7 separate regions of the Homo sapiens genome follow, and all the other regions are linked to region 3. The links are contacts of gene promoters, found by promoter capture Hi-C in blood cells and fetal thymus (Javierre and others, 2016). All regions are on one chromosome and are shown on one strand. Each heading gives the region's core, a stretch centred on a gene start or on the middle of the fragment in contact. The rest is flanking DNA. Distances are from core to core; before and after follow the strand shown. Region 1 overlaps FHL2 (four and a half LIM domains 2). Region 2 has its middle 14 kb from the start of UXS1. Region 3 holds the start of NCK2 (NCK adaptor protein 2). Region 4 overlaps UXS1 (UDP-glucuronate decarboxylase 1). Region 5 overlaps C2orf49 (chromosome 2 open reading frame 49). Region 6 overlaps UXS1 (UDP-glucuronate decarboxylase 1). Region 7 overlaps TGFBRAP1 (transforming growth factor beta receptor associated protein 1).

What was found. Contacts are between HindIII fragments. The CHiCAGO score rates a contact against its expected background, and 5 or more counts as called.
Region 1: a contact is called between a fragment that was not itself captured here and the fragment with the promoter of NCK2 in region 3, in 2 of 17 cell types (fetal thymus and naive CD4 T cells). The highest score is 6.6, in fetal thymus.
Region 2: a fragment that was not itself captured here is called in contact with the fragment with the promoter of NCK2 in region 3 in 1 of 17 cell types (naive CD8 T cells); the score reaches 5.4 in naive CD8 T cells.
Region 4: a contact is called between a fragment that was not itself captured here and the fragment with the promoter of NCK2 in region 3, in 4 of 17 cell types (activated CD4 T cells, total B cells, naive CD8 T cells and 1 more). The highest score is 10.6, in activated CD4 T cells.
Region 5: a fragment that was not itself captured here is called in contact with the fragment with the promoter of NCK2 in region 3 in 11 of 17 cell types (fetal thymus, naive CD4 T cells, activated CD4 T cells and 8 more); the score reaches 20.3 in fetal thymus.
Region 6: a contact is called between a fragment that was not itself captured here and the fragment with the promoter of NCK2 in region 3, in 1 of 17 cell types (activated CD4 T cells). The highest score is 7.7, in activated CD4 T cells.
Region 7: a fragment that was not itself captured here is called in contact with the fragment with the promoter of NCK2 in region 3 in 1 of 17 cell types (neutrophils); the score reaches 5.3 in neutrophils.

What each region holds. Positions count from the first base shown.
Region 1 is chr2:105,357,444-105,361,149 of GRCh38, forward strand. FHL2 (four and a half LIM domains 2) reads right to left here. Exons shown (of 7, transcript NM_001318895.3): 7 at 3,383-3,706. It also overlaps a transcript of C2orf49 not described here. Among named protein-coding and RNA genes, the nearest start is that of C2orf49, 22 kb to the left of the region's middle. The HindIII fragment of the contact is 6,495 bases long and covers 1-3,706 here.
Region 2 is chr2:106,206,439-106,210,378 of GRCh38, forward strand. No RefSeq gene overlaps it. Among named protein-coding and RNA genes, the nearest start is that of UXS1, 14 kb to the left of the region's middle. The HindIII fragment of the contact is 1,721 bases long and covers 495-2,215 here.
Region 3 is chr2:105,743,270-105,746,977 of GRCh38, forward strand. NCK2 (NCK adaptor protein 2) reads left to right here and starts at 1,643. Exons shown (of 5, transcript NM_003581.5): 1 at 1,643-1,869. RefSeq lists silencers at 1,294-1,613, 1,804-1,863, 1,974-2,363 and enhancers at 2,734-2,803, 2,904-2,953. The HindIII fragment of the contact is 4,864 bases long and covers 1-3,280 here.
Region 4 is chr2:106,147,644-106,151,109 of GRCh38, forward strand. All of the region lies in intron 5 of UXS1 (UDP-glucuronate decarboxylase 1), which reads right to left. Among named protein-coding and RNA genes, the nearest start is that of UXS1, 45 kb to the right of the region's middle. The HindIII fragment of the contact is 1,002 bases long and covers 1,107-2,108 here.
Region 5 is chr2:105,338,019-105,341,501 of GRCh38, forward strand. C2orf49 (chromosome 2 open reading frame 49) reads left to right here. Exons shown (of 4, transcript NM_024093.3): 2 at 1,565-1,731. Among named protein-coding and RNA genes, the nearest start is that of C2orf49, 2.2 kb to the left of the region's middle. The HindIII fragment of the contact is 1,249 bases long and covers 965-2,213 here.
Region 6 is chr2:106,181,402-106,185,306 of GRCh38, forward strand. The region is part of intron 1 of UXS1 (UDP-glucuronate decarboxylase 1); the gene reads right to left. Among named protein-coding and RNA genes, the nearest start is that of UXS1, 11 kb to the right of the region's middle. The HindIII fragment of the contact is 342 bases long and covers 2,114-2,455 here.
Region 7 is chr2:105,315,939-105,319,472 of GRCh38, forward strand. The region is part of intron 1 of TGFBRAP1 (transforming growth factor beta receptor associated protein 1); the gene reads right to left. Among named protein-coding and RNA genes, the nearest start is that of TGFBRAP1, 12 kb to the right of the region's middle. The HindIII fragment of the contact is 4,217 bases long and covers 1-3,534 here.

The sequences.
Region 1 (3,706 bases), core at 180-2,679, 390 kb before region 3:
TAAAGTCATCTCTTGGTATCTGTGGGGGATTAATTCCAGGACCCCCTACAAATACCAAACTCCATGGATGCTCAAGTCTCATATAAAATGGCATAGAATTTGCATATAACCTATTCACATCATTCTGTATACTTTAAATAAATCTCTAGATTACTTATAATAATACCTAATACAATGCTTACACATCACTTCATTTGCATGGATTCAACATAGTACTCAGCATGTGGAAGATCCAAGTTTTGCTTTTTGGAACTGTGTCAACTTTTTTTTTTTTTTCCTAAATACTTTTGATCCACAGTTGGTTGAATCCACAGATGAGGAATCCATGGATATGGAGGAACAACTGTAATTGTTCCTTTACCTTCCTTTTTTAAATATGATTTCCTTTAGTTCTTTGAACAAACACATTTATGTGTTCAGCCAGTGTTTGGTCAGAGGTTCTGCTTAAGCACTTTGAGCTAATAAGATTTCTGCTCTTTGCTGATGGATCTGTGTATGCCTTAGAGAATGCTTTCAAGTTTGTTTCACATCTGATTGCTCCTGAGTGGATACAGCCCTGTCCATACATACTTCCCGAACCTCAAGGATAAACCAGATTCCAGGAGGGCTCTTCTTGGCTATCTCTTTCTCTGGTTTTCTGTGTTAAACTTCTGGCTGGTCTGTCATTTTGCTTTTTGCTACTAATAGCATGGAGTTACCAGCCCCTTCCTTAATGGCTCACTGGTAAGATGTCTTATTGTTTTTGACAATCCCCTTAGGCAAAGATTTCTCGTTCTCCGTACCAAATACCAGTCCCCTTGGGCATAACTGCTGGGTTACCAGTCTCAGAGCCTGGATCTCCTCTGGGGGCTGGACAGCAGCCTGCTTCTCCAGGACTGACATCCCTTCTCTGTGAGTGGGTTGATAGCCGCTGGTCTTCTCAGATTGCCCCTCCCAATGTGGAGCCTCCGCACTAAGCAGGCTAGGGTAGGGGCAATTGGAGCTCTACGATTCTCAGCCTGTCGCACCTGGGGCAAAGCCCTAGACTGGTAGCTGGAGGAAGAGAGACCCCTTAATTTTTGGCTGCATTGGTCCAGAATAGAGTTTGTCACATGAAGCTGGGGAGTGGGGATGGGATAGGATGAGGCTGTGGCTCAAATGCCACAGACTCACTGTTCTTTCTAAGACTTAGTAGTGGATTTTCCTGAATGAATGTTTATTTGTTGTATGCTTCTGGGGAAATTTTCAGAGACTTTGTGTTGTGTGGTTTATATACAAGTAATTTCCTTCAGTAGGAAGAGGGTCGGTCAGCTAAGCCCTGCAAACCACTATCTGTAAAGTCCTGTCAGTCAATGCTTTTAGCCTTGGCTGGGCTGCTTGGAGTCTGGCCTAAGTATACACGGTTCAGTTGTCAGCCAGAAATTTCTAAGTTCATGCGACGAACTTGGGGCTCTCCTTTTCAGGATTTTCTTCCTCACTTTCCAGAGGCTGTTTGTCCCGAACTCTGGCCTCTGGTTCCTCAGGCCAGTAAGACTGCAGGTTTCCTAACAGAGTTTTAGATCCCTGGCGGGGGCCTGCCATTGGATAAAAGGCCGAAACAGGAAAATCACCCAGTGTCGTTCTCTTCTTCCAAGTGTCTACTGCCCTCCAATATCTGCCTGCTTTGGATCGTGCTCCAGTGTTCTTAACAATTAAATAAATATTTTGTCCAGAATGACTGTTAATTTGGAGGAGAATTAGTCCAATTGGAGCTATTTACTAGAAGTGGAATTCCCCCTAACCATTAATTTTAGAATGGGTAATTTAAGGTTGGGAGAGTCTATGGTTTTAATGAGGAACAAGTAAGATGTTCCAAAATGAAATTTGGAGTGCTTTTACTTTTATATTATGAAGTAGAAAACAGCAAAACAACTAACAAAGGATGAAATTATTCTTTTTAAGCAAAACCTCAAGTCAACTATAAAACCAAAAGACTCATTCCAGACATTATCAAACATTCTAACAGTGACTAACACTCAGATTAAGAAACTGATTTCACATATGCTCAGCATATATCAGACTTGATTTCCACCAAATTTTTCTGTTGCTCAGCCTATCATTTTATTATATTGCATTGTCTTAGAAAACTAAGGACAAAAAGGTCACTGATGCTCCCATTCTAAAGAGAACTGTGCAATGTTCTATCCCATACATTGGCTCCGTGCTTCCCAACTGTATACTGCTATCTGAGATTATTCCACAGACTACTGCCACACTAGTAGCTCAGAATGTTATTTTTACTGTAATGACTGTGTGTCTCTCCTGCTTTACTGCCCTTTTCAGAAACACTGAAGGCTCCCAGTGTGCCCTCAGTTGCGAGGGTGTTGAGAACATAAAGATGAACAGGATGTCGTCTCTGGCCTCAAGTTGCTTATGTCCTTGTGCAATCTTTCACTTTATGGAAGTCGGTGTAAGATGTGGATCCATAACACTGGGACAGAGCCGATAAGCTCTGCCAAGAAAAATGACCTGAAAATTGGCTTCACTGTCAGTTTATGTTACTGTGTCAAATGCAGAGGATTACATTCCAAGAGAAAGAGTATGGGAAAGACAGAGAAGGTAGCTGGGTGCGGTGGCTCATGCCTATAATCCCAGCACTTTGGGGGACCGAGGCAGGTGGATCACCTGAGGTCAGGAGTTCAAGACCAGCCTAACATGGTGAAACCCCATCTCTACTAAAAATACAAAAATTAGCCGGGCATAATGGTGGGTGCCTGTAATCCCAGCTACTCAGGAGGCTGAGGGCAGGAGAATCGCTTGAACGCGGGAAGTGGAGGTTGCAGTGAGCTGAGATTGTGCCATTGCACTTTAGCCTGGGCGACAGAGCGAGACTCTGTCTCAAAAAAAAAAAAAAAAAAGGGAGAGAAGGTAGCAAGGAAGAGGTGCCTGGTGCTGACTGAAGGCTTTTTTTTTTTGAGACGGAGTCTCTTTGTCTTCCAGGCTGGAGTTCAGTGGTGCCATCTCAGCTCACTGCAAGCTCTGCCTCCCGGGTTCATGCCATTCTCCTGCCTCAGCCTCCCGAGTAGCTGGGACTACAGGCGCTCACCACCACACCCGGCTAATTTTTTGTATTTTTCGTAGAGACGGGGTTTCACCATGTTAGCCAGGATGGTCTTGATCTCCTGACCTCATGATCCACCCGCCTTGGCCTCCCAAAGTGCTGGGATTACAGGCGTGAGCCACCGTGCCCAGCCGAAGGCTTCCTTTAAAGGGTGTGATGCTGTTCCAGTTGGCAATGCCCCAGGCCATTGGAACATTGGAACTGCACTTCATACAGTGACCATGGGACCATGCAATAAAGTGTTACTTAGACTCAGTGCCTCGACCTGTAATCATGATTTCACACTCTGTGCCTGGCAAAAGATTCTGTTCTGAATAACTTTATTGCAAGTCACATAATCTTGGTTTAGACTTGACGCAACGGGAGGTTACAGAGCTGTAAATAACAACTGGTCATTACCTTATTGAGTTTAGAAAACTTTCAAGTTCGTGACATATGTTAATTGCACTTAAATAGACAGTGAGAGAAAGATTTATAAAGGCATCATTCAAAAGGATTTTTACATTTGGGTGTGCCTTACTCGATTACAAAAATTTCAAACCATCTTCCCACCTAGGGCCTAGGGCGAGTTTTCTCTTTCCCTGGGACTGAACTATCACAAAGCACTAAAGGGTTTAAGCAAACGTG
Region 2 (3,940 bases), core at 105-2,604, 460 kb after region 3:
TGAATGAATAATATTTTTAGAAAACTATGAGAAGCCATTGGGAGAAAAATTCCATATATAATGTTATTATTTCTCATATATGTACCAGTTTCATTCACATATATTCATGTCTTCTTAGAGGTAAATTTTCACATTGTGACCTTTGCCCTGGTCCTTTCCCTTTGATGATTTTCCTTTTCATGACCTCTCCAATATTACATCTTTATTTTTTCTCTTCATTCTTGAAAATACTTTAAAATTTTTAATTTCCCCAAATGTCTTCCTAGTCACTGGTGTATTCCTCCATTTCACGTCTCTCCCATGTGAGAGCCAGTATTTGAAACCTACCCACGTGAGCCTTGTATCCTTTTCAGTGTGTTCATTCTCCTAATGCCAGTCTAGCAATTTAATTTTTTCAATTATTTTAGGCAGGCAGGGTGGCCTTTAAAAACAAGAAATGGTATCCATACACTTTCTCTGGAGGAAGGAGTCCCTCTACCTGCTTGTCAATGATAAGCTTCATGGGGGTGAACCCTGTTCCTCCAGATTAGAGACCTGGGGATGGGCTGAGTTAGGAACACACCACAGTCACATGGCTTTAATTAGAGCTGGGAGTGTGTCCCTTCATATGGTTTTGGATATTTGAATTTAGGAAAGAAATTAACCTGAGCTCAAAATTATAACCTGAATTCTTTATAAAAGGACAATTGCATAGACATGGCTGATACCTCATCTTTGAAAAATAATGAAGCCTTGAAAATACATCAGATAGTTATACCGTTGAGATGCTACAAAAGAGAAAATATCTGTGCAAGCAAGAGAGTCTGTGTGTAACTAACATACATTTGCATATAGCAATATGGAAGTGATTTTGACTGGAGACTATCACGAAATGATCATTCCAGAATCTATCTGTAGAGAAATTAATGAAAGTATGAGGGTAATCAGTCCTTCAGCAGCCTGTCACCTTCCCAACAACAGAGAACTCACACTGGAGAGGAGCCCTTGAATACAGTGAGTGTGGGAAAATCTCCATCCCAGCTCCACATTGACTCAGCATGTGATAGCCCACATGGAAAAACCCCATGCCTGTAATCAATGTGGAAAGATTCTCAGTGACTGCTAGTCCTTTCGTTGACATAAATCAACTCACATTGGAGTTAAACCTTATAAATGTCATCTATGCAGGAAAGTCTTTAATCATTGATCTTACATTAGACAACAGGAGCCCACTCACACTGGAGAGAAATTATATGAATGTCATCTATGTAGAAAAGTCTTTAGTACATACTCTGGCCTTAGACAACACAAGAAGATCCACACTGGAGATAAACCATCTAAATGGAATTACTGTGAGAAACACTTTGGTCAGAACACCAAATTTATTCACACCATGGAACTCACACAGAAGAGAAACCTTATAAATGCAATAAATTTGGGAGGCATCTCAGACAAAGTGTAACCTTTATTCACACCAAAGAACTTGCATGACAGAGAAACTCTGTAAATATAGTAAATGTGGGAAAGAATTCCACCTGAGCATTCAGCTTTATTCACACCACATAATTCACACTGCAGAGAAATCCTGTAAGTGTAATGACGGTGGAAGAGCCATCAGTTATCCTTTATCCCTCAGTCAACACAAGCAAATTCACACTGGAGAGAAATGATATGAATGTCATTTATGTGGAAGAGTGTGGTCAAATTTCTGGTTAGTAAACATAAGAGAATTTGCACTAAAGAAATAAAGTAACTGTGACCAGGATTTTAGATCACAGTGAAGTGGCCTTGTTGTCTGGGGGGAGGTTCTTGGTCTCATGGCCACGGAGATTAAGGACCCGGACACACACAAGGGTGAGGTCTAGAGCAGAACTGTAATAGGTGAAAGAAAGAGGATAGCTCTCTCCTACAGAGAGGGGTCCCAGGAAAATGGGTTGCCAATCTCTGGTGAAATGCAGGGGGTTTTTATAGATGAGCTAATGGGAAGATGGTGTCTGATCTACATAGGGCATGAAAATCTGGTTAGGACCAATTGTGCCATTTGCACAGGGCATGAATCTCTGGCAGCCCCCACCCCAATCTTTTATTATGCAGGTGGGTAGCTACTCCATGTTGCTTATTTCTTTCGGACTGTATACATGGTAACAAAAAAAGGGAAGGTGGAGCCCCATGGTGGACATGCCTGGCCCCAGGTAGCCCTTTTCTGTGGGTGTAGCTATAGGCCTCCCCCAGTGCAAGCTTCCAGCTTCCTTATCAATGCTTGCAGCTCAATCTTTCAGGCTTCTCTTTGTTAAAAAAGGAATGATTTCTTGGGCTGCTTTTTGTTAGAAGGGAAGTTCTGTCAAGGACTCTTTTGCCCTCACTATCTGCCTAAATAATTTCTTTCTATCTCCTGTATCAAGAGCTCTCACTTGATTTACACACACACCAAAAATAAGAATTATAGGGGAGAAAAATCATATGAATGTCAGATATGTGGGAAAGCCTTCAGTCAATTCTCTGACTATGGACAACCTGGGAGAACCTACATTAGAAATGTAATAAATGCATAAGAGCCTTCAGCAGTAGCTGTAAACTTTATAAACACCAGAGAACTTACATGGAGGAGAAACTTTATGCCTGTCATCAATGTGGAAATGCCTTCATATCTAACTTATCCTTCAAACAACAGGAGTGAACTGTACTGTAGATAAGCCCTTGGTCTGTAATCAGCTTTAACAAGCATTCGGCAGAGGTCCAGCTCCAGTGTGCACAAGAAAACCCAGAGGAGGAATAGCCTCTTAACAAGAAATTCGGGGCAACCCCCTTTGGGTCCATTTTATGGGAGCTCTGTTTTCACTCTATTAAATCTTGCAAGTGCACACTCTTCTGGTCCGTGTTTGTTATGGCTCGAGCTGAGCTTTCACTTGCCATCCACCACTGCTGTTTGCTGCCATCGCAGACCTGCTACTGACTTCCACCCCTCCGGATCCAGCAGGGTGTCCGTTGCAATCCTGATCCAGTGAGGTGCCCATTGCTGCTCCTGATCAGGCTAAAGGCTCGCCATTGTTCCTGCATGGCTAAGTGCCCGGGTTCATCCTAATCGAGCTGAACACTAGTTGCTGGGTTCCACGGTTCTCTTCCATTACTCATGGCTTCTAATAGAGCTATAACACTCACCGCATGGCCCAAGATTCCATTCCTTGGAATCCATGAGGCCAAGAACCCCAGGTCAGAGAACAAGAGGCTTGCTGCCATCTTGGAAGCAGCCTGCCACCATCTTGGGAACTCTAAGAACAAGGACCCCCCCAGTAACATTTTGGCAACCACGAAGGGACCCCCCAAAGTGGTGAGTAATACTGGACCACTTTCACTTGCTATTCTGTCCTATCCTTCCTTAGAATTGGAGGAAAATACTGGGCACCTGTCAGCCGGTTAAAAACCATTAGTGTGGCCGTTGGACTTAAGACTCAGGTGTGAGACTCTCTGGGAAAGGGCTAACAACCCCAACCCTTCTGGGTTGGGAGCGTTAGTCTGCCTGGAACCAGCTTCTGCTTTCAATTTTCCTGGGGAAGCCGAGGGCCGACTAGAGGCAGAGAGCTGTTGTCCCAAACTACGGCATTAGCTGGTTGAGATCATGGCACAGCCAGAAGTCTCTACTCAACAGTTGCCCATGCGTGTGCCCCTACCTTTCCTTCTGACCCATACCTCCTGGGTCCTGACCATGACTTTCTTGAAAGTGTAGCCCTAAAATTCTCCTTGCCTCTGAATCTACATCCTCCAATCCGTGCCTCCTAGATTCTAATGCTTCAGACTTTCACTTCCTCTCCCAAGTATTAGAACAGGTTGTATCTCCAAAGGGATCTAAGGAAGCTCTATGCTGCATCCTTAGGCCCCTAGGCTATGAACCCAGGGAGTCTTTTCCCTGGTGTCCCTCCCAATTTAGGCATACAGCTCTCGACATGAGCAGTTATGTGGGACC
Region 3 (3,708 bases), core at 393-2,892:
GAATCAGAGAAAGAAGAGGCATGCAAGAACCACGATTCAGTGAAAGTTTACAAAGCAAACAAGCTACAAACTGGGTCAATATTGCTATACTTATTTTGAGTAAATTAATCTAAAATTGGGCAGACTGATGACTAGAATTCTTCTTTTCTTATTGTAAAGCTAGATATTAGTAACACAAAACTTGCACAAAAGGATGAACTGAAGTAGCTTCTTTCACAAGGTCAAAACAAGGAAAAATGAGGCTGTTCTGATTCCCTGAGCTTGTACCTGATTCCTGCTCAGTGTACTGTGCTTCCTTCCACTTACTGAGCTATTGAGGGCTACCTACTGCCAGGGTACTTCACATAGGAGGTAAGTAAATATTATCTCCCCATATGACAGATTTTAGAAAGGCTGAGGACCACCTGTGCAACGTTACACAGTTCAGGAAGTCAACAGTCAAACACTCACCTGTCTGACTTCAAAGCTACGCTGACTCTAGTTACCTATCCTTGGGTACTTCCCTTCTGGAAGGAAGCAGGAGATGAGTGAATCAAATAATACAGCCTTGTAACCTTGGGTAAATTATTATTGCCTTAATAGTAAGCAGAGACCAGGAGCCTAAGAAAGAATCTCATTAACATGGATGCAGGCTATCCTGCCAGGAAATCAGAATCATTTGAATATTAGGATTTCCTTTGGGAAACCATATGGGGAGGAGAAAAGACATCCGGATGCATGTGTCTGTGAAAGGGAAACTTGTGTCTTTCCCCTTGCTCTTGGGTTTTCATCTTCCAAGTTTGTTTATAGGCTAGCCACAACTCGAGGCTGGGTGAGCTGAACGGTCCCATCATTAGCGACACTCCTTCTAGGGGCACATTCGGGCAGCTCCTCTTCGGGTTCTGCCCCCACGGGTGTGCAACCAGGATTCCACAGGCTGGGGCTGGCCTGGATGCCTGGGAGGCAACAGAGGTCGAGTTTCTTCTTCTTTTAGGAAGTGCCTCGGACAGGGATGATGGACTAAAAATGTGTCTGGTTGGGAAAGTAAATAGATGCAAAGCAAATAAATAAAAATGCCCACAAGCAATTACAGGGAGGAAGTGACATTTTTATTTAAGTCACTTTTCTGATGGACAACAGGCCTGCTTAGCTGAGTGCCGTGGGAATGCTTCCGGGAGGGGGGCGGCTGCCCAGCAACTAGAGCTTCGTGATAAGAACAACGAACAAACAAAAAAGAGGACGCAAAGCCCACCCGGCAGTCATCCCAGGCTGGAAGTTGCCGTCTGTGTTTTCACTCTCCTCCCCACCCACCTACCCTGCCCCCCACCGCCCGCACGCAATTTCGGGCGTGGGGACCCTTTCCTGCCCCCGGCGCCCGGCCCGTGCTGCGCCTCCAGAGCGGAGCGTCCCGCAGCCCCGCGCTATCCCGGCGCCCGTACCGGGACCCGGGCGCGGAGCCTGGCGACGACGGGGGGCGCCCCAGGTGGGTCTCGGGTCCCCGCCCCGCGCGCCCGGGCCTGGGCCGGCCCCTGGGCGGCGTCACGGCGCGGCCGGGGAGGAGCGCGGGAGGAGGAGGAAGAGCGCGGAGGAGGCGGGCGCTGCGCGCCGGGGGAGGGTCGCCGCCGCCGCCGCCGCCGCCGCCGCCGCTGCCGCGGGGATCGTCAGGCCGGAGCCGCGCGGCCGAGCGGGCGGCGGGCGGAGGGGAGGGCTTGGCGGCCGGGAGGCTCGCGGCGCCCGGGCCGGCAGGGTCCGCCCGGGCCGGCAGCGTCCGCCCGGCGGCGGGAGGAGGGAGCGGCGCAGACAAAGAGCGGCGCCTGGGCGGGCGCAGCGCGGCCACCGCCCCGGGACCCGCGCCGCTGCCCTCCGGCTCCGCGGGCGGCCCACGGCGAGGTAAGCGCGGCTAGGCGGGCGTGGGGCGGGGGCCACAAACTTGGGGCCGTTGGGCGGAGTTGGGAGCGCGGCGGGGCTCGCGGGCCGGGGTGCGCCCGGGAAGGGGCCAGGAGAGCGGGTCCCCTCCGCGCCCCTCCGGTGCTCTCGGCCCTGCCGCGGCCTGGGCGCCCCCGACCGCGGACTGCCGGGCACCTCCCGGCTCTGCACCTTCCTGCCCGCCTTCCCATCCCTAACCCCCACCATCGGGGGCCGGCCCAGGGGCGGGGACGCCAGCCAAGGGCGCGGGCGAGGATCAGGGCAGGGGGCCCGGCTGCGGGGCCCGGGGACTGGAGACCCCCGGGTGCGCAGGCTGCGCCTGGCCTGCAGGCGGGCGGCCGGCACGGAGCTCGGGGCTAGCGTGGGACCGTGCGGTGGCCAGGGTCGCCAGGGCGCGTGTGCCGGGGAAGAATAGCCGCGGATCGCAGGGCCCCGGCGCAGGGACGGGGGAGGCCGCGATCGGCCGGGAGAACTTAACCGTGTTTATTACAACTATTTATGTTCGCGCACAAAGCTGCTGTCACATTGCATAAAGGAGGTCCTCGCTTCGGCGAAGGGAGCTTTTGTGCCCGGCTTCAGGCTCTGCGCCCTGCCCCAGATTTACAGGACTCTAACAGCCACCTGAATGAACCAAAGTTTCTCACAATCGCTCGGCTCTCTCGGTTTTTTTCAGGGCGATTTAATCACCGAGTGCTTTTGGAAAAATTTGATATGTGAGTTTTAAGGCATGGAGGGTAACTGCCTTATGAGCACAGTTAGCTTGGCATTGTGTGGAGGGGTTTAATTTGCAAAACGCTTTAATTTGTAGACAATGGGGATCTCTGTGAAGGTCTGCGGTGGATGCTAGGGGTCATTGGCTGGTGGACCCCAGGCACCTGACTTAAACTAGTATTGTAACAGCTTCAGGGACAAAGCCGAGCGTGCGTGGAGTCGGCCTTGGCCACTTCACACAATTCAGGTTGGCAGATTCCTCTTTATTTGGCTTTGTTTATTTTGCCAACAGGTTTAAGGCTGCTTCTGCCAAGTTTGCATCTGCATAATGGGATGAGCAGGCCCCAGTGTGGGCAGGAGGGGGCCTAAAATATCGCAAGGGCCAGCTCCGTCCCTCGACCCAGAAAGAAACAACCCTGAGAGGCCGGTGGGCGTGGCTTGCTGGGACCTACAGGTAGGGGAGTCCCTTCCTGGCCCAGGCGCAGTCCCCGCTTCTCGGAAGGGATTTTGTGTAGGAATGAAAGTGATTCAGGGTGTTTTTCATGCCTCTGTTTTAGATGTAGTTATCAAGTCTCAAAAGTGACTGAAAATGAAATTAACCTGGGCCGCTTTAACTTACCAAAACGGAACTGTGCGTGTGAACACTCCCTCAATTCACTTTGCAAGCTTCATAGATAAGCAGGTGAATTAGTAACAGGATTCAAGCCTTGCGAGTTTTACGTAAAGAGAATGGCAGTCATCGGACACGTGGAGAAGAAATTGACTTCACCTGGAGATTGGGCTAGACATGGAGGTTTTTTGACGTTTGGAACAGGGGTTTCCTGAGAAGCAAGTGTTAACCTGCTTGTGAAGAAGTGAACACGAGGGAAAATCCTACCTCAGTATATTCTGCCCTGGAGGTTGGTTAGATGTAGTTTTGATTGGAGAAGGTGGCGGAATCTTAGTGGTCTTCTGGCGGCTACTTGAGGCTGAAATGGAGAACTTTAGGCATAGGAAGCTGTGGAGGTGCCTGGCCCACTTCCTGTCCCGGAGGCCTCGCCTGGATTCTGAGCTTCTTTCCTGCTTCATAAACATTCAGGGGGGTTGGTCATG
Region 4 (3,466 bases), core at 358-2,857, 400 kb after region 3:
AAAATAGCCTGTCTTTTTGGGCCAAACCAATGTAAAAGCCCTATATATTGATTTATACCTCCTTGTAACTTCTGCCTCTCTAAAATGTATAAAACTAAACTAATCCGCCTGCCTCGGGCACACTTACTCAAGGCTTCTTGGTTTTGTGTTTCCTGGGGCTGCAGTTACTCATACTGGATCATAATACACCTCTAAAATATTTTAGAGTTTGGTTTTTCAGTTAACAAGGCCAACCTCAAGAATAACCATCCCTTAACCACCACATAGATATTACATATGCTCTGATGAAATGCAAATCAAATGGTTAAGACAGGATGGGTGAGACCAGGCATCCTCATGCTCGATAGCTTTCATTTGGCTTTACCAACAGCACCATTTTCCAAATCCCCTTTGCCTTCAAGATAAGAAACTGACACCCAGAGAAGTTACGTCTTTGACTAAAATCCTCAGAGATCACTAGCTGGGACACACTAAAGCTACAGTCTTTCTAATTACACGCTCTCTACTGCCTGTCAATTTGTCTGGTTCGTGTTTCATCTTAAGAGCTCCCACATTCTACTGCTATACCTGAACAATGACTATGAAAAACGATTTTCCAGAAAAATAATTGAAATTCAAAGTTGACTCACCACTAGAGCTTAACTCACGGGATGAGATTTCATTTTATCTTCACGTTATTGCATTTTTTCCAAGTTTTCCATGATTTTTACATTTAAAAACTTGCAACTTTTAAAAAGAAATGTAACCCCTTTTAACATAACTGTTTCTCTATATGCAAATATTTCTGAAAACAAAATGTTCAGTGGCACTCTAACATTATCTCTGCACCCAAAATACCTGGCAGACAGTTCTGAGATATCAGAGATGCAGCGTATTAAATTACACATGATCATCTCCAACATCTCACTAGTCTTAGTACTGACGTAAAATTGTTGGAAGCACCTTAGCTTGACTAAAATGCACTGGAATTTTTTTTTCTGAAGTAATTTCCTTCTACCTAAAATACTTAAGATTTATATAATATAGCTGGATGGTTATGCAATTTTTTATCCTAATCAATGTTAGCCCATTAGGCAAGTGTTTCAAATAGAAACAAATTTGGTGAAAGCTTAGCACTTACAAAGCTCTATCAGGAACACTAATCACCAAACCCAAGGATATTCTTTGAATAACAAGGAGCTAATACCCAAAAGAGAACAGGAGAAAAGAAGTAAGACCTCTTACACTGAGATGGATTAGAACTTACACGGCTTTGCATGGCTTTCCAGTATAGGGGTTTGTCTCAGTGTGCTTTCTTGCTCGCTCTTGTGGGTGCCAATAGGCAGCTAAAGTGGTCTAGTTCAAGGTCAGCAGTCAAACTCATGATGCTTAGCAAATTAGCAAAAAATCAAAAAATGTATTTCAAAGCAAGTCTCCTCTTTCTGTTGAAGCTGTCCTAAGGCTTACCAATTTACTGAAAAGGCTTTAAGTTATAGCAACAATATACCAGACTCACATGCCAAATGCCTCAGAAATGTGCTTAACCTATGAGATGGCAGATGAGGGGAAAAAAAAAACTAAGTCTGTTTGCTGTGGTGATGTGTAAAGCAAAATAAATTCTATAATACTCAGCATCGACAGGAAGATCATTCCATGTGCACATAATAAAATTCATGGCAAGATTTTGCAGCATTCCTGTAACAGTGCTGCTGTGCTTTTAACGTGTCCACCAAAAGCACATTTTGGTAATTTAATCCCCAGTGCAACAGTGTTAAAAGGTGGGGTGATTAGGCCATGAGGTGAAGTAAATGGATTAATGCCATTATCAGAGGAGTGAGTGTGTTATCGTGGAAGTGTGTTCCACATAGAAGCACGAGTTCAGTCCCTTTGGTCTCTCTCTTGCTCTCTCTTTACCCATCCACTACGTGATGACATAGCAAGAAGACCCTCACCAGGTCACAACCCCTTGATCTTGGACTCCCCAGCCTCCAGAACCATGAGCCAATAAATTTGTTATAAATTACCCAGTCTTAGGTACTCTGTCATAGCAGCACAAAAAGGACTAGGACAGAAAATGGGTACCAGAGAAGTGGGATGATGCTTATACAAACACCTGAAAATGTGGAAAAAGCTTTGGAACTAGGTAATGAGTAGAGGCTGGAAGAATCTGGAGGTGCATGCTAGAAAAAGCCTAGACTTCTGTGAATGGAGTGTTAAAGAAACAGTGGTGAGGCCTCAGAAGAGAAGAGCTGTGGGGGAAGTCTAGAACTTCTTAGAGATTACCTGTAACATGGTTGTGATCAGAACAATTGTGGAAATATGGACAGTAAAGGCCATTCTGATGAGGTCTCAGATGGAAATGAGGAACATACCACTGGAAACTGGAGTGAAGGCTATCCTTGTTACAAAGTGGCAAAGAACTTGGCTGAAATGTGTCTGTGTCCTCTGGCTTTATGAAGGCAAAATTTACAAGCCATGAGCTAGGACATCTGGTGGAAGAAATTTCTAAGCAAAATATTAAAAGAATTGCATGGCTTCTTTTAACTACATAGAGTAAAACAAGGGAAGAGAAAAATGATTTAAAGACAGATTGTATAACTAAAAGGGAAACAGAACAAAAAAAATTTTTTAAGTCCCCAGCCTTACCATATAAAGAATGAAAAAGTGTGCAAGAGTGCAGACAATTGACCCTTTGATACACAGAGTAGTATGGTTAGAAGGAAGCCAGGTTCTGTCCCTTAAGACAATGGGAGAATGACCCTGAAGGCATTTCAGAAATCCTCCAGGCAAGCTGAGACCTTGAGGCCAACGTTTCCAGAGAGGTGCTCGAGGTCACCATTCATTGCCCTGTGCTGCCACAAGTCTCTGCTCCCCTTAGCATTCCTCAGCCAGCACAGCTGTGGCTCCGGCCAGTCCAGGTGCAGCTCAAGCTACCGCTCCGGAAGATATAGGCTGTAAACCTTGGTGGTGTCCACGTGGTGCTCTAATTCTGCAAGTGTGCAGAATGCAAGAGCCATGAGAACATGGCTTCTTCCAACTAGATTTCAAAGGATGTCACAAATAGCCCGGGACAGGGTGGGAGGTGGCGGGGGGTAGGCAGAGACTCATTGCGGTGATACAGCTGCCACAAAGACTCCGGAACTGTAAAGCTACCAGCATGTAACACCAGCCTAAGGAAGTTACAGGCACAGAACTCCAACTCGCGAGAGCAGCCAGGTGGACTGAGACCAACAAAGCCACAAGGCTGGGGCTCCCAGAGGCCTTGGAGGTCCAACCCCCACCCCAGCGTACCCAGGACTCAGGCCATGGAGTCAAGAAAGATTATCTGGAGCATTACGATTTGATCTTGTTTGCCCTGTTGGGTTTTGGACTTACTTGGGACCAGTTACCCTGTTCTTTCCTATTTCTCTCTTTTGGAATGGGAATGTTTATCCCACGCCTGTTCCACCATTGTATTTTACAAGTAGATAACTTGTTTTGATTTCAC
Region 5 (3,483 bases), core at 339-2,838, 410 kb before region 3:
GTAGAAATCATGGACTGTCAGGACTGGAAAGCATCTGAGAAACCGTCCATTCCACACCTTCTAATCGTTTAAAGATGATAAAAACAGTTCCAGAGAGATGAAGTGACTTGTTTAAGGTCACAACATCTGTAAATGGTACTTCCGGGAGGAGAATTCAGGGCTCCTGGCTCTCCATGTAGTGCGTGCTCTTTTCCAGCTGGTGTGGCCTCTGATAATAGGAGAAAAGTGAGAAAGGAAAAAAGTGATGTTTTAAGTGATAGAGAATTACTGGAAGTTTCCTTGGGGTTTATGTAGCGTATTTTGTTGTTTTTCATATGGCTTTCCCCTTAGTACCCTATCTTTGTTGAATTTCAGGTCCTCTTGCCACGTAGAGCTTAATTATGTCAGTAAGTTTTTACCTGTGGTTCTCAAACTTTTTAGGTACTTAAGAATGAGTCGAGGGACTTGCTAAAACACAGATTGTTGGGCTCCGTCCTCAGTTTCTCGTTCAGTAGTTCCGGAATGTGGCCCGAAATCTTGCATTTTTAACGAGCTTGTTGCTGGCCCAGAAAGCATGCTTTGACCACCACTGTCCTAAGGCAATACTTTCCAAAGTAATGGGCTTATGAATTCTCTGGGAACGTTGTCCAAGAGAATCCTGGTAGTTTCCCCTACTTCTGAGCGAGTACGGGCTAAAAATAGATGAGTCTAATATACGAAAGAGAAGTAAAATGTGCTTTTATTAGTTTTTGTTAGAGGATATAGGCTTGTCGGTGGTACTAAACACAAATGTTTTCAAGCCTTTCTGAGTTGAAATTGAAGAGCCTGTGATCTCATTTCCATTCTCATTTCTCCTTCTTAAATCCAAACTCTGTCTTCATGACTACTCCTGTGCTTATGCTATGTTTTTCATGATGTCAAGAACAAATTGGAAAATGAGGAAGAATTTGGTGATTTAGATAGAGATGGTTGGACAATGACTGGAAGCTTACTTGAAAGGACCAGTGAAAATGGGGTGCAGGCTTTTCTAATGATGTACTGCTACTGTCGTCAGTACGGGAATAACAGTTTCTATTTGTGGTATTATTTGAAATCTTGGTAGTTAACTTCAATTTAGGAAGCACCAGATTAGAGAAGCACGAGAAATATAAGACAGACTGAGACCTTCATCCCACTAATCTGATCATGATAGTAACACTCAAGGTAGCTTATTGACAGAATGTGGTGATTGTTAATCATTGTTAGCTTTCTTTTGTCAACAGGCAGTCTCCCATTTTCAATCCCCTTTGTATATTAAGATAATTTTACTGGAAATGATCTTTCATGCTTGGTGTGTTGGCTGAGCAGTTGTGGACAGCAATCCCTGTCACACTGAGAAAATATGACCATTGTTTTTAAGATGAGGCTGAACCTAGTATCTACAGAATTTAACCTTTAACACTGTCTCTAAGTGCGCGTGTTATTGTGAAAATGGCTTTTTATAATTTGTTATTTAAGCAGTAATGTTTTACCATGTTAGGTAAGGTGGTTACTTGTTAAAATTAAAAACATTGTTTTGAAATTACTTTTGTTTCCTTTCCCGCAGAAGAACATAGCTGTTGAAACTGATGTAAGAGTAAACAAAGACAGTCTTACTGACCTTTATGTCCAACATGCAATACCATTGCCTCAGAGGGATTTGCCGAAGAATAGATGGGGGAAAATGATGGAAAAGAAAAGAGAACAACATGAGATTAAAAATGAGACTAAAAGGTACTTTTTGGTGGTTCTAGCTTTCAATTTATCTTATATAACTAAAGTTATATATAAGTTATTGATTTTTCCTGAGATAAACTTAAGTAAAAAATTTATTTACTCAATGACTATCTATTGAGCACCAGGCACTGTGCGTATAGCAGTGAATAAAACTGACAAAATTCCCTGCTCATATTTTTGATGGGAGAAACATAACAACAGTTAAAATATGGTATTGTTATATAGTAATAAAGGCCAGGGAGAAAGATTACAATTTTTGGTAAATTATCCAGGAAGATCTTAGTGAAAAATGACATTTTAGTAGAGAGACCTGTAGGAAGAAGAAAACAAGCTAGGATTCCAGGCAGAATACAAGAGGCTGGATCTGGAATGTGCCCATCATATACCAGGAACAACAAAGCAGCTATCAGGGCTGGATGGAGAAGTAGGAAGAACGAGTTGTACTGGGGGCAAACGGGAGAGATTGTCAGATCATGTAAAGCTTTGTAAGTCATTGTAAGGACTTTGGCTGTACTCAGATGAGAAGCCACTAGAAGGTTTTAAGCAGAGTGGTGACATCATTAGATGTACATTTTGACAAGATGACTCTGGCTGCTGTCCTAAGAAGTGATTTAAGGTGTGTGGGGAGGGGAAGCGGTGTGTATAAGACTGGAAGCAGGGAAACAAATTAGAAGCCTGTACTGTAATCCAGGCAATAGATGGCAGCAGCTTTGACTACAATAGTAAATTTGGTGGGTTGGAGCATGCATGTATTTTGAAGATAGAGCCAATAGGATTTCCTGAATTTTGAGGAAAAAGTCAAGTCAGGTAAAACTCTAAGGTCTTTGAATAATACACAAATGAAGGGCCTGTTAACTAGCTTAAGTTATGCTATTTAAAATTATTTAATTTCAAAAACAGTTTTATAAAACCACAAGCAAGTGATTTTTTCTTTTTTAAAGAAAATTACATTTGATTAATCAGTGTTGTTGATTGGTTAATAAGTACAAAGTGTCCTAAGATCCTTAAGTGAACTCTTCTGTGTCTATTATATCTCAAGTGGATACTATTGATCAATTAATTTTTTTTTAGGGCCTTCTATTTGTAAGGCACCGTCATAGGCAATCCACTAGAAGCAGTGAGAGAAGACAGAGTAGGAGGGTAGGGGTAAAGGGGAGTATGTTCCTCTGAGTTTTAATCTCTGTTTTACAAAGAAAAATTTAATGATTGAGATTATTCTCCAATTATGAAGAATAGTCGAAGAATACATGTCTGCTCATTGTCTTTTGGAAAATACACACACAGTCTGACCTTTGATCAAGAATGCATTTTAGATTGACCATTTTAGCTTGATGGTTACTTTACTTACTAGTACAGACTATGTAGTGGTGTTAACTTTCATAAATATGGGTTACACTGCATATGGCTTTTAATTTACTTTTGCTGTTATTCAGCCAGTATTTTCCTCTTGATCAGCACATTCAGGCATATTGTTCTAGTAAGCAAAACTTTATGTGCCAGTCATACTTTCCTTTGAAGCAATCTTTGTACAACTGTCTTGATTAGTCCCCCAAAATCATTTTGGAAAGGATCTTTGACTCTATTTTTTAAATACACAATTGAATCAGAGCATTAAAACTGGAAGGATCCAAGAGATCATCTTGTATTGTTGAACTACTTATTATTTTATCTGTGGAGGAACTGAGATCCTGAGAAGTGCTGTAACATGCCCAAGGTCACACAGAGCTAGGACCAGGTCCATAGCAACAT
Region 6 (3,905 bases), core at 1,035-3,534, 440 kb after region 3:
TTTTTAGAATGCCTAAGGCAAAGAAAGCTGGGGCAAGCGGGGCGTGGTGGCTCACACCTGTAATCCCAGCACTTTGGGAGGTCAAGACGGGCAGATCACCTGAGCTCAGGAGTTCGAGACGACCCTGGGCAACATGGTGAAACCCTGTCTCAACTAAAATACAAAAAACTAGCCGGGCATGGTGGCGTGCGCCTGTAGTCTCCTACTCAGGAGACTGAGGCACCAGAATCACTTGAGCTTAGGAGGGCAGGTTGCAGTGAGCCAATCTGGCGCCACTGCACTCCAGCTTGGGCTACAGAGTGAGACTCCATCTCAAAAAAAATAAATAAATTTTTTTAAAAATCCATACTAGTTAAGAAGAAAAAGTAAATTCAGACTTCTCACCACGACTTTTAGGAGGAACTACTATGATCTAAGAAACCTAGGAGTGCTAACGCTGGGATCCAACGTAACATGTAAAGCTCTATTATTTCTTTCTGAAAGTAGGGCACTTTCTAAAAGTTAAGAAGAAGATGGGAACAAAGTATACAACTTAAGGATTAATGCAAAAGGCAAAGGAGAAATTTTTTTAAAAGATGGATTATGACTTCAGGGCTCATTTTATTGCTTACTGTTAAGAAGTTTTGTTAGTAATATATTTGATACTTGATCTTGATGTAGAATGAATGCGAAAGAGAAATTTGATGGAAATACACTTCACAAAAGAAAGAAATTACAAAACTTTGCTGAGGGCCAAAAGAAAGGTCTATCTAAAGTATGGGTGTCCAATCTTTTGGAATCCCTGGGCCACAGTGGAAAAATAATTGTCTTGGGCCACATATAACGCTAACAATAGCTGAAGAGCAAAAAAAGCAAAACAAAACTCATAATGTTTTAAGAAAGTTTATGAATTTGTCCTGGGCCACATGCAGCCCGCGGGCAGTGGCTTGAACAAGTTTGGTAAAGAAAAGCTAGGCGCTATTTCTGGATGGGAAGGCAATTTAATATGCAGAAATTATGAGGTCTGGGATTTTTCTCTTCTTTGCACTTCATTCTCTAGCTTTTCCACATTGAGCACCTTGTTTTCTCATTTCTCCTGTATTTTGTAATTTTCAAATGGGAGCTTAAAAAATTTTAATAATGGTTTTAAGCTAGCCTTTTCATTTTGTGTTCAAAAAGGGCAGAGAGGGAAAGAAGGTGAGAGAGGGATCTAGGAGGACCATCTCCAAACCACAGCACCCACGGGCATGATCCTCAGCCACCACAGCTGTGCCCCAACCCAGAGGGCTGTCAGTGCTCTGGGCTCATTCTCCATGCCTCAGTTTCCCCACCTATGAAATGGAGAGAACATCTCCCCTCTTCACGCCTCACTGCAGGATAGTTGGGTGCTGCTTCTCCTGCCCAAAATGAGGGCTGCATTTCAGCATCTACACTGGTGGGTGGGGGTGGGGTGGGAACGCAGGCAAGGTGAAGCCTAAGGAGGGCAGAGAGCGCTTCCGTTGGGATAGTGGGGTCCTCTCATTGAATTAAGAACCTAGGATAGAAATTCTGTTTTTTAAATAATTAGGATGCACTGGGGTAAGGGAGCAGGGAATCAGAATTAAATTCCACAGAACAGCAAAAGAAACCAAAAGAAAAAAAGAAAAAGATCCTGATTTGGCAATGTATGAGTTTTGCTGAGAAGCCCTGTTTACGAGGATCCATTATTCACAGCTAATGGCCATTTCCACCAGAGCCATCACTAGCCCCTTTGATGAGTGTCAGAATAACTTGGTTCTTTCCCTTGGTTACAACCAAGCCATCCTACACCACCAATGTTCTGTTGCTGATAAAACCCAGCTGCCTGCTCAAGTCTTTTTTAAAAAAAAAAAAAAAAAAAAGCAAGGTCACCCCCAGTATATATGTCAACCAAATTCTAACTTAGAACCAGCAGGCTTTGCTTTCAATTTCTAAAAATACTATAAAAATATTCAAAGATACTAAGAATAACATTCCAAGATCTCACCACCCTAACAAAATTGTTTTCCTTTTCTAGCACATCCAGACTCCCTCTGAAAAAGACTGCTTTGAAGTTCAAACGTTTTCTGCTGTTGCTTTACTTCACTTATTTATTTTGGTTACAGCAACTCTAAAAAGCTTAACCAAAAAGAAACTGATGGATTAACTCCAAATTCACTCTTGGCCCTTCTAAATGCAGGGCGATGAGGAAACCCTCAGCCCCCCTCAGAGGAGAAGTTCCCACTTGCTGGCCGTCACTGCCCTTCCTGCCTGGAAGGAGTCCCTCCATGTTGCAGGTTACTTTACAACACACACCCACACCTTTTTTCCCTTGAAGCTCATCAAGTGAAGTTATCAGCTCTTTAGAGAAATCCCTTCAATTCCTCACAGTATTTAAAACAAATTATTTTTACCTGCAAGGCAAAGGAGTATTTTCATTTTACAAATGGAAAAAAAAAATTGAAACAGAAGGTTAGAAAGCTTGCACCACGTGATAGGGTGAGACCGCTTTATTCAGAAAAGGGATGATCTGGCCAGGCACTGTGGCTCATGCCTCTAATCCCAGCACTTTGGGAGGCCGAGGTGGGTGGATCACCTGAGGTCGGGAGTTCGAGACCAGCCTGGCCAACATGGTAAAACCTCATCTCTACTAAAAATACAAAAATTAGCCGGGCGTGGTGGCGCACGCTTGTGATCCCAGCTACTCAGGAGGCTGAGGCAGGAGAAACGCTGGAACCTGGGAGGCAGAAGTCACAGTGAGGCAAAATCGCACCACTGCATTCCAGCCTGGGCAACAGAGCAAAACTCCATCTCAGAAAAAAATAAAAGTATAAAAAGAAAAAGAAAAGGGCTGACCCTGAATTAATCCTCCCCACATTTACCCTTCAGGTAATTCCTAGGACTTGTCATATTTGTAAGACAAAAAGCAAGACAAGAAATTTGCAGTAGACATTAATGTGGGTTCAGTACACATGAAGAATCTGGTAACTGGCCTCACCTATTCAACATATCTATTTGTGAAAGCTCTCCAACTTCACATCAGACATGTTCTTGACTTCTCAGCTGTCTTAGTCCATGTTCAGGCTGCTATCACAAATATACTACACAGTGGGTGGCTAATAAACAGGAATTTGTTTCTCACAGTTATGAAGGTTGGGAAGTGCAAGATCAAGACACTGGCGGTGAGGGCTCACTTCCTATTCACAGACGGTGCCTTCTTGCTGTATCCTCACATGGTGGAAGGGAGGAATGAACTCCCTTGGGCCTCTGTTACAAAGACACTATCCCATGCATGAGGGCTCTGCCTCCTGACCTAATCACCTCCCAAATACCCCACCTCTTAATGCCATCACTTCAAGGATTAGGTTCCAACATGTGAATTCCAGGGGACACAAACATTCAGATCACAGCACTGGCCTGTACAGAAGTACCATACATATCATATACCAGGACTAGAATCCAGTCACATATCTACAAAAGGTAGGCAGCTCAGGAGACATGCACACCACAAAGCACATTTCAGGCCACACGGGCCAACCCCAAAATGCAAAACTGATTATACTTTGCCCTGCCCTAATGTCTGAACACTTCAGGCATGTTCATCAAAATCTCTCTCATGCTGCACAAATTCTTATGGAGGGCTTACTCATGTCATTAAATCAAGTTTATGTCAGGTCAGACTTCCACATTCTGCCTTTATGGGCCACAAAGACTCCTGCTCCTGGCATTGTGTCACTCCAGCCTCTGCTCATTCCATCACTTTCACCTTCAACTCCACTGCCCAAATTGTATCCTTCTGCTAAATGCCAACTCAATGCCCCAGGTCTTAAGGGCATCCCATTCTCTCCAAGTCCCAGATCTCATTTCTCTCATGGTACTCAGCACTTTACCTTGACTACTTTACCTTGTCCATTTTCTTAGGAACTATG
Region 7 (3,534 bases), core at 832-3,331, 430 kb before region 3:
GAACGGCTCAGTTTTCCCCACTTACCCCCATTTAATTGTGGCATATTTATACAGTGGAATACTACTTAGAAATAAAAAGAAGTAAACTACTGACAAAGGCAACAAATAGATGACCCTCAAAAACACTGAGTGGAAGAAATCATGCCTATATTGTATATTTCCAATTATCTGAAGTTCAAAAGTAGGCCACGCTAATCTATAGCGACAGAAATCAGAACAGTGTTTACTTTGGAAGGAACTAGATGCGTAAGTGGAAAGGGACACAGTGAACTTTCTGGGTGACAGACATAGTCTGTATTTTATTTAAGGTATTAGCTATGCAAGTGTATGGAATTATCAAAATTCATTGGCTTGTGCCTTTATGTTCTGTGTATTTTACTGTATGCAAATTATGTTTTTTACAAAAAAAAAAAAAATTCCCCTACCTGATCCAGAGGAAAAAAAAAATGCCATTCCAATACAAACTCTTACAGGTATAGGGAGTGTGTGTGTGTGTGTGTGTGTGTGTGTGTGTGTGTGTGTGTGCGCGCGCGCGCGCGCGCACGCGCACATAACTCAAAAAGCAGATTCTAAAATTCACATGGCAGACTGGGAGCAGTGGCTCATGCCTGTAATCCTGTAATCCCAGCACTTTGGGAGGCCGAGGCAAGTGGATCACCTGAAGTCAGGAGTTCGAGACCAGCCTGGACAACATGGTGAAACCCGTCTCTACTAAAAATACAAAAATTAGCTGGGCGTGGCTGTGCACACCTGTAGTCCCAGCTTCTCAGAAGGCTGATGCAGGAGAATCGTTTGAACCTGGGAGGCGGAGGTTGCAGTGAGCTGAGATTATGCCACTGCACTCCAGCCTGGGTGACAGAGTGAGACTCTGTCTCAAAAAAAAAAAAAAATTCACATGGCAGAAAGGGCCAGAAAAAGTTAGACACTTATGAAAAAAGGTCAGGAGACTTGACTCAACATATACAATATAATCAAAAACCGTGGTAATTAAGATAATGTTGGACTAGCACGAGGACAGACCTAGAGAACACAACTGGGTGCCCAGAAACAGGCCATGCATATGTGGAAACTTGAAACCTGACTAGGTTGGCACTGTACATGTGGGGCATATACCGTGTATACACATGTACAGTAAACAGTACTTGTATGTCCATAGGAATACAAGTACAGTATTTGTATGTACTAGATGTCCATAGAAAATATAAGAAAGCTAGATTCTGCCAGGTATAGTGGCTCACGCCTGTAATCCCAGCACTCTGGGAGGCCGAGGTGGGAGGATCACGAGGTCAAAAGATGGAGATCATCCTGCCCAACATGGTGAAACCCCATTTACACTAAAAATACAAAAATTAGCTGGGCATGGTGGCGGATGCCTGTAGTCCCAGCTACTCGGGAGGCTAAGGCAGGAGAATTGCTTGAACCTGAGAGGCGGAGATTGCAGTGAGCCAAGATCGTGCCACTGCACTCCAGCCTGGCGACAGAGTGAGACTCATCTCAAAAAAAAAAAAAAAGAAAGCTAGATTCCTACCTCACACCACACATCAAAATTATTCCAGGTGATTAATATTCTTAAGTATAAAAGACATAACTTTGAAACACTGGAAAAAAAGCATGAAAAAATATTCTCATGACCTTCTTAGGGTAAGGGAGAAGTTCTAAAATAAGATATAAAAAAGCACAAACCCTAAGGAAAAATGATAAATTCTCCCATGTGAAAATGTACTGTTTCTGTTCTTCAAAAGACACCATGAAGAAAGTGAAAAGATAAGGGGAAAAGGGGGCTAGGGAGAAGACACTGACATCATGTATCTGACTAGAAACATCTGGATGATGTGGGAACTCCTGCAGCAAGAAAGTCAAGGATCTAACAGAAGGATGGGCGAAATACACAAACAGACCTTTCAATGGAGAGGAAACATGAATATCCAATAAACACGAAAGAACACAACCTGATTAGCACCTGGAATTTGCAAATTACACCTATAATGATACTTCATTTTCTACCCATTAAATTGACAAATATTTGAAGTCTGACAACATGAGGTGTTCCTAAGAACACAGCACAATGAGGAGGCTCCACCATGCCAGGGGAAGGTTCGGAGCTGGTAAGGACAGGTTATCATTACCTAGGAAGCCCCTGCCATGACTGAGTAAGCCATGACTCTACTCCTAGGCATCTGCCTTACTGAGTCTGTTTTGTGCTTACCAGGGCAAAGAAAGTCCACAGCAATCCTGTTTGAGACACAGGAAAACTAGAAACACCTCATGTTTCCTCCAAAGGCTGAAATACTGTACAGCTGCAAGAGAATGAACTAGAGCCGCCCACAAGGATGAATCTTAAGAGAATCTTAAGGGAATGATGAACACAAATCCGGGGAGGATGGGACTGGGTATGGGTGTGCATGAGATTCCCAACGGTCAGTAATGTTTTATTTCTGAAGCTGAGGGTTGCTTTTATTATGACTCTCTATATCTTATACAGATTACAAATATATTTTTATAGGCATTAAATATTAATTAAAAATATACACGTACATGTAGAATGTATAAAATTCTACTCATTTCCCCAAACCAGCTTACCCTGGAAATAGAGAAAGAATCTGTTTAATAAACCTGGTAGAATTCACAAACTGTATGTTCCTTGTTAAAAATTTCATTGCATGGAAGCACATTTATCAAACAAATAAGTGATTTATAATTTCTTAGTTTATCTAAATGCAGTGCTTAGCTTATTTTATATCCATATTTAATGGCCATTTCTCAGGATATCAAAGTCCAATTTGGGGCATTCCATCCATCATTTCCCATAAACATACCCTAGAAGGTAAAGGGAAAGACCAGCATGTGGTAGATGGCTCAGGGGGCGAACACCCTGCCCCATGGGCGTGTATACCGTCTGGGGCAGCAGCTTCTGTGAGGCTAGCCCCTTACCTCATGGGCCTCTGTCCCTCTCCCTTCCACTTCCAGGGCCACATAAGTATCTCCACTCTCAGTTTCAACCAGTTCAAAACTGGTTTTACTATCTTACTCTTCTTTCCATTTCCTCTATACTAAAACTCACCAAGGACAGGCCTCATTAAAAAAAAGTCACAGCAGGAAGAATAAACGTGGAATGAGAGCCTTTTTTTGTGTGTGTGTGTGAGACAGAGTCTCACTCCATCACATAGGCTGGAGTGCAGTGGTGTAATCTTGGCTCACTGCAACATCTGCCTCCTAGGTTCAAGCGATTCTCGTGCCTCAGCCTCCTGAGTACCTGGGATTACAGGCGTGCATCATTTTGCCCAGCTAATTTTTGCATTTTTAGTAGAGACGGGAATCTCACCATGTTGGTCAGGCTGGTCTCAAACTCCTGACCTCAAGTGATCTGCCTGCTTCAGCCTCCCAAAGTGTTGCAATTACAGGCGTGAGCCACTGCGCCTGGCCAAGAGCAATATTTTAAGTAGATAATCTAGACATAAAAAGAGGCTTGTAGGCCAGGCGCAGTGGCTCACGCCTGTAATCCCAGCACTTTGGGAGACTGAGGTGGGTAGATCA